Linked DNA regions of Homo sapiens: region 1 is linked to region 2. The links are contacts of gene promoters, found by promoter capture Hi-C in blood cells and fetal thymus (Javierre and others, 2016). All regions are on one chromosome and are shown on one strand. The core of a region is centred on a gene start or on the middle of the fragment in contact, and the rest is flanking DNA. Distances in the headings are between cores, read along the strand shown. Region 1 holds the start of LSM10 (LSM10, U7 small nuclear RNA associated). Region 2 holds the start of SH3D21 (SH3 domain containing 21).

Region 1 (2,910 bases), core at 281-2,780, 92 kb before region 2:
CAAGTAAATCAAATCACTTCGCTCCCTTTCAATAGCCTGTCATAGCACTTCTAGTACTAGATGAGAAGACTGAGGCACAGAGAAGATACTAACTTGCCCAAAGTCACAATTAGCCAGGAGTAGATTTGAACCTAGGCACTGTATCCGGAGGCTGCACTCCTAACCATGAAATCTAAACTCCTTACCTTGGCTCACAAAGCCCTATATGCTCTGGTTCCTGCTTCCTCTCTGGCCTCTTGTTATACCACTCTCCCCAGCTTCCCTGGCCTTTCCTGTGTTCCTAAATTGTCAAGGTCATTTCCCCCAGGTTCTTTGCATGAACTGTGAAAAGAAAAAATTTAACTTTTAATTGGTGATTTGACTTTTTTTTGCCAAATTTGTTAAATCTGACTTTTATTTGCAACTCTAGAATCGGGCAACACTTCATTCTATAAAATGGAATGAGTGTTCAAATGAGCTGAGCAGAGGAGATTGGTTTTACAGCCAGAAAAGGGCTGAGGAAAGCAGAAACAGAAAACAAAAAGATTGGTTGTTTCAAAGTTACTTTCCTTGTAACTTTGAAGGCTAAAGCAGAGGGGACTTCCTTATCCTGCCAGCTAAAACAGGATGGTTTGGAGATCTAGCTATCTCTCACTCTTCTGATTTATCGGAATATCAGATAAACAACTTAGTTTCCACTTGGTGATGTAGAACTTTAGCATGAGTGACTCCATTTTGGTTCTGTTGGGCTTGGTGCAGGAGCCCTGTTCAAACCAATGGCCTCCAATTTTTTTTTTTTTTTGAGACGGAGTCTTGCTCTGTTGCCCAGGCTGGAATGAAGTGTTACTTTCTGAGCTCACTGCAGCCTCCACTTCCTGGATTCAAGCAATTCTCCTGCCTCAGCCTCCCAAGTAGGTGGGACCAGAGGTGTACGCCACCACGGTGGGCTAATTTTTTCTATTTTTTGTAGAGACAGGGTCTCCCCATTGTTGCCCAGACTGGTCTCGAACTCCTGGGCTCCAGTGATCCTTCCGCCTTGTCCTCCAAAGTGCTGGGATTACAGGTGTGGGCCTCTGCACCCGGCCCTGCCTCCTATAAATTTTACTTAACAAACTGTTCCCGCTAATTGCAATGCTCCTCCCATAGTTTTCACAAGCTTGGCTTCATGTCACTAATCTCAACTCAAATGTCACCTTCTCAGGGCACCCCTGACAATCCAATAAAAGACCACCTTGTCACCATCACATCACACCTTTAATCTTCTGAAGAAATTTTTCCCTATTTTTCTTCTTTGTTTTCTTAAGACTCTCTCCCCTGCAGCGCCATCAGCTCAGGGAGCCACTTGATCTTGGTCACTGCTCCATGCCGGAGCCTGGGAAGGAGCCTGGCCCAGGTCGCCGGTTCAATGAATGCGTGCGGAATGAATGAACGACTCTAGTGAAAGAGACTCCAATGACGCAGGCCGGGATTTGCGGAGCACGAGCCCCGCGCCGCGAAGCATTCTGGGGATTGTAGTTTCTCCGTGACGCGGTGACTTGCAGAGCACTGACGCACTCTGCGCCCGGAGGACAGAGCGGCCCGGTCGCCGGCATGGTTTCTCCGTCCTGCTGCAGCCGGCGGGAGGCAGCCAGTCCAGGCGCCCGCTAGCTTCGGCGGCGACCCAGACGGGGAAAGCGGAAGGAATGTCGCGTGGTGGGTCCGGGTCGGCGGTGCAGGGAGCCCCGGGGCGGAATGCGGGGGATGCCAGGACCTCCGGAAGGAGGTGCCGGAGCCCAGGAAGCGTTTTCTTCCCCATTTACCGAGTATAGCTCCTTTCCCCAGACCCGCTCCCGCTGCTCTGAGTAAGCGGTGCTCATCCCGTTTTACCGGTAGCTTAGCTAGCTTGGAGAAGCTAAGTGGTTTGCTAAGTGATCGCCCTCCTAGGAGGTGGCAAAGCCTGTTCTAGAACCCGGGCCTGACTCGAGGTCCGGTGACTGCTCTTTGCAGTCGCAGCAGCAGCCCCATACCTTTGCTTGATCGCAGATTCATCAGGCTGCAGCCGGGTGGCTGGTCGTTAGGCCATGCCCAGGGACCTAGCTCCCAGGCCCCCTCGTCACTGGCCTAGTCTGGCTTGCCACGCTCAGTGCCACAATGCACAGCCCTGGACGGGATGCTGAGTGAGGTCGTAAAGAGAGAGCGTTCCACCCCCTTTAACTCAGGTCTGAAAATAAGGGATAGGTAAGACATAGTGCACTAATACATTATCAGGGCATGTTGAAATCAAAGGAGAGTACCTTTAGTGGAGTGTGATTCTGGTAGCTTTGTTTCTCCTGTAGTTTAATAAATGTGGAAACAGGTTCAGAGACATTAACTTTTCTAGGTTTTCATAATTAGGGGTGGAGTGGGGATTCCAACCTAGGTTTCTCTACCTTCAAAACCTATGTACCTTATATAATACCGGTTGGGGGTTTTTTTCCCCAATTCATTATCCAGATTTATTTTCTTTTTTTTTTTCTGAGAGTCTCGCTGTGTCACCCAGGCTGGTGTGCAGTGGCACAATCTTGGCTCACTGTAACCTCTGCCTCCTGGGTTCAAGCGATTCTCCTGCTTCAGCCTCCCAAGTAGCTGAGATTACAGGTGCGCCCATGCCCAGGTAATTTTTGTATTTTTGGTAGATACTGGGTTTCACCATGTTGGCCAGGCGGGTCTTGAACTCCTGACCTCAGGTGATCCACTCGCCTTGGCCTCCCAAAATCCTGGGATTACAGGCGTGAGCCCTTGCACCCGGCCTCATTACCTTAATTTCTACTTACATAACAGCTGCATGGTGTAGACCAATAGTTCCCAGAGTGTGGGCCCCTGACCAGCAGCATCAGCATCACCTGGGAACATGTTCAAAATGACTTTATCTCTGGGCCTCACCTCAGACCTGAGTCAAACTGGGAGTGGGGC
Region 2 (2,831 bases), core at 193-2,692:
GGACCAGGGCTGACTGAAGGCATGTCTGGGTTACCAAGGCCTAGTGGGGGACAGTGAGGTTAGGGAGGGTGCTAATTCACAGGTTAGGTCATGGGAGAGGGTCAGAGGGGTCACAGGGTCAGGATATGTGAATCACAGGCTCATGCCACTGGGAGGGTCATTGGAGATTGCGAGTCACAGGGTCACAGAGTCGAGGTCTCACTTGGGGGCCCACTGTCCAGCAATTCCACAAAGTTGGATGGGAAGGCTCCCAGCTGCCCGTTCTTCTTCCCCAGCCACCAGCCGTCCTCAATCTGGGGAGAGGGGAGGACGCAGAGGCGTCTGGTTCTGCCCCAAGAGTCCCTAGGATAATCTGCCACCCTTGGTTCTGCCCAAGCGCCCCTTCCTCCCTCCTTCCCTCCCGCGCTTCCCCGTATCTGCACCGTCGCCATTCCCACCGTCCACACCCTCACTTCCCACCCCGCTCACTAGGGAGGCGCGTTCCATCATCCTCCCCCAAACGGTCCCATCACCTCACCCCTCACCTCCTTTATCATTTCCACGATCTCCCCAGCTTGCAGCTTCAGCTCGTCCGCCTGCTCTGGGCTGTAGCTGAAGTTCACTTTGCACCATCTTTGGGGCCTCGGGTGTTTGGCAGGATGACCTAGCACCGGACAAGCGCGGCTGAGCTCCAGTCGGACGCCCCAGTCAGAGGAGCTGGGGGAAGCGCAAGGCGCGCACGTAGCCTTTGGTCCCTCCAGCCCCGCCCCAGGGCGGAGCATTGCACTCGAGAACCAATCACAGACCGCAGGGCGGCCCCGAGGTCCCGCCCAGAGCCGCGCCCGTCACTAAGAGCCGGAGACGCCGGGGTCGCACTGGCTCCGTGCACCCGCCCACCGGCGCCCGTCCCCGCCCTTGCGCTCACCTCGGCGGCGCGCACAGCGCGGCCTCCGCGCCTCTCCGGAGCCCCGCAGGGTCTCTGGGATCTCCTGGGAATCAGGGCACGGGGAAGGCGCTCTCAGCTCCCGGGGGGCGCGCGCTGAGACCCCACAGCCCGCCCCTGGCTCGGCCTCACCTGCACCAGGCGCTCGGGGAAGAGGCCATAGCGGCCCCCAAACTCTCCGCGAAGCCAGCCCCGCGCGGGCACCCAGCGCACCTGCCGGACCACGTCCCCGGGCGCCAGACTCAGCTCGTCCTCCTTCTGCGCGCGGTATCCGGCCAGGACGAGGACTTCTGCGGGCGGAAGACGGGGCCGGCGTGCGGCTCAGAAAGGCCCAGCCGGGCAGCCTGGCTAGGGCGGGCGTGTCCCCAAGCACCGTAGAGGGCAGCGGGGGTCGGGGGGTGGTGTGGGCTCTTGCTATGTCCACGGTTGCAGAGAGAGGCCACCTCAAAGCCTCCGCACTTACCCATGGTTTCCGGGGCGCCCTCCAGAGCCTGGCAGCTCCCTCTGACGGCCGAGTACTGGGCCCGCGCAGGGTGCGACCTGAGGCAAGACAGTAGGGTAAAGGAGGCGTAGCCGCCAGCCGATAGGTCGGGCCAGGTGCTGGGAGTGGGTGTGGAGAGGGGGCGGCCCGGCTCAGCAGGTCCGGCCCCCAACCCCGGGGTGAGGAGGACTCCAGGGTCTCTGGCCTGTGCAGCGGTCACAGCTCCGTCACAGGTTCTTCCGCCCACCTAAATTTTAGGCCAGCCGCCTCTCCCTTTCCCTCAGCTTTTGCCCGGAGGCTCCCAGCTACAATTTGCACAGAGCCTTTCCAGGCCCACCCTTCCCCAGCTCACAAGCTTTTGGCTTGAGGGGAAAAGGTGGGGAGAGGCACATACCAGGGTGGGGCCCCCCAGCAAGTAGCAACCGCTCTAAACCGGCCTTGAGTGAATGAAGTGGCTGCCCTTGTACCAGCAATAGCTTTGAGTGGACACTTCCAGTCTGCTTTCCTTCAAGGCGTACTCCTCTCTGGCCCCGTACCCACTCTCTACCCCCATATAGGAAGGACACAGCAAAGACCCCTGCTTTGGGGCCAGAGGTCTAGTTTGGTTTCAGAAAACACCTCCAGGTTTTCCCTGGGAGTTAGGCCGGGAGAATGAATTTTACCAGCTTCCAAGATTTCTGCTCACAGTTGAGTCCCCAGCCGGCAGGAGTCTGAAGGTTAGGGCCCACCCTATGGCCAGTCCATGTGGGATAGGCTCTTTCAGGTAGAAGGCTGAGCCTACTAACCACATCCCTTGATCCCTGCCCCACCACCATGATGAAGGAAGCCAAAGTCCTTGCCTATGACACCAGTGGAAAAAATCTGTTTCTCCTGGGGTGTCCAAGGTACACAATGCTCCTCCCAGGAAGGACTGTGTCTGTCTGGGACTCCAGCAGCCTGCGCAAGGCCCCACAGGCCCTTTGTCTTTCAGGTTTTCTGAAACTGCCGTGGGAAGTTATCTACCACCCTCAACACACACACACACTCAGGATGACAATGAACAGAACCCGTTTACATCTGCCACTTCATTTATTTTATTTGCAGGAGGAGTTGAAACAAATTTTAAGGGAGATTTTCATTTTCCCCCTAAACATGAATCATTCAAGTAAAACCAACTTAACTATAGAAATGTAGCAAAGTAAGGGGAAAGCAGCACAACAACGCAAGAGGCAAAGGCTGGGGGGGAGAGGTGGGTGCAGTCCGCATATAACATATGCATAAATGCCTTATGATTCACCTGCTCAGGACCGCCTCCCCAGAAGGCAAGCACAAGGACCCATTTTAAGAGGATGTTTCCCCCCAAACATCTGAGAATGCTTCAACTTAAACAGCTTAAGGTTAAAAAGACAAAGAAAAAAAAAAAGAAACCCAAAAAAACCCCTGAACCAC

What was found. Contacts are between HindIII fragments. The CHiCAGO score rates a contact against its expected background, and 5 or more counts as called.
Region 1: the fragment with the promoter of LSM10 here is called in contact with the fragment with the promoter of SH3D21 in region 2 in 1 of 17 cell types (endothelial precursors); the score reaches 5.6 in endothelial precursors.

The regions. Positions count from the first base shown.
Region 1 is chr1:36,396,528-36,399,437 of GRCh38, reverse strand. LSM10 (LSM10, U7 small nuclear RNA associated) reads left to right here and starts at 1,530. Exons shown (of 2, transcript NM_032881.3): 1 at 1,530-1,671. RefSeq lists enhancers at 961-1,672, 1,673-2,385. The HindIII fragment of the contact is 5,014 bases long and covers 1,138-2,910 here.
Region 2 is chr1:36,304,979-36,307,809 of GRCh38, reverse strand. It overlaps SH3D21 (SH3 domain containing 21), which reads right to left and starts at 1,442. Exons shown (of 16, transcript NM_001162530.2): 1 at 1,386-1,442; 2 at 1,055-1,212; 3 at 905-968; 4 at 525-643; 5 at 203-293; 6 at 1-40. The coding sequence starts at 1,389. It overlaps THRAP3 (thyroid hormone receptor associated protein 3), which reads right to left. Exons shown (of 12, transcript NM_005119.4): 12 at 2,453-2,831. RefSeq lists enhancers at 542-591, 394-1,194 and silencers at 692-1,131, 1,352-1,401. The HindIII fragment of the contact is 29,085 bases long and covers 1-1,760 here.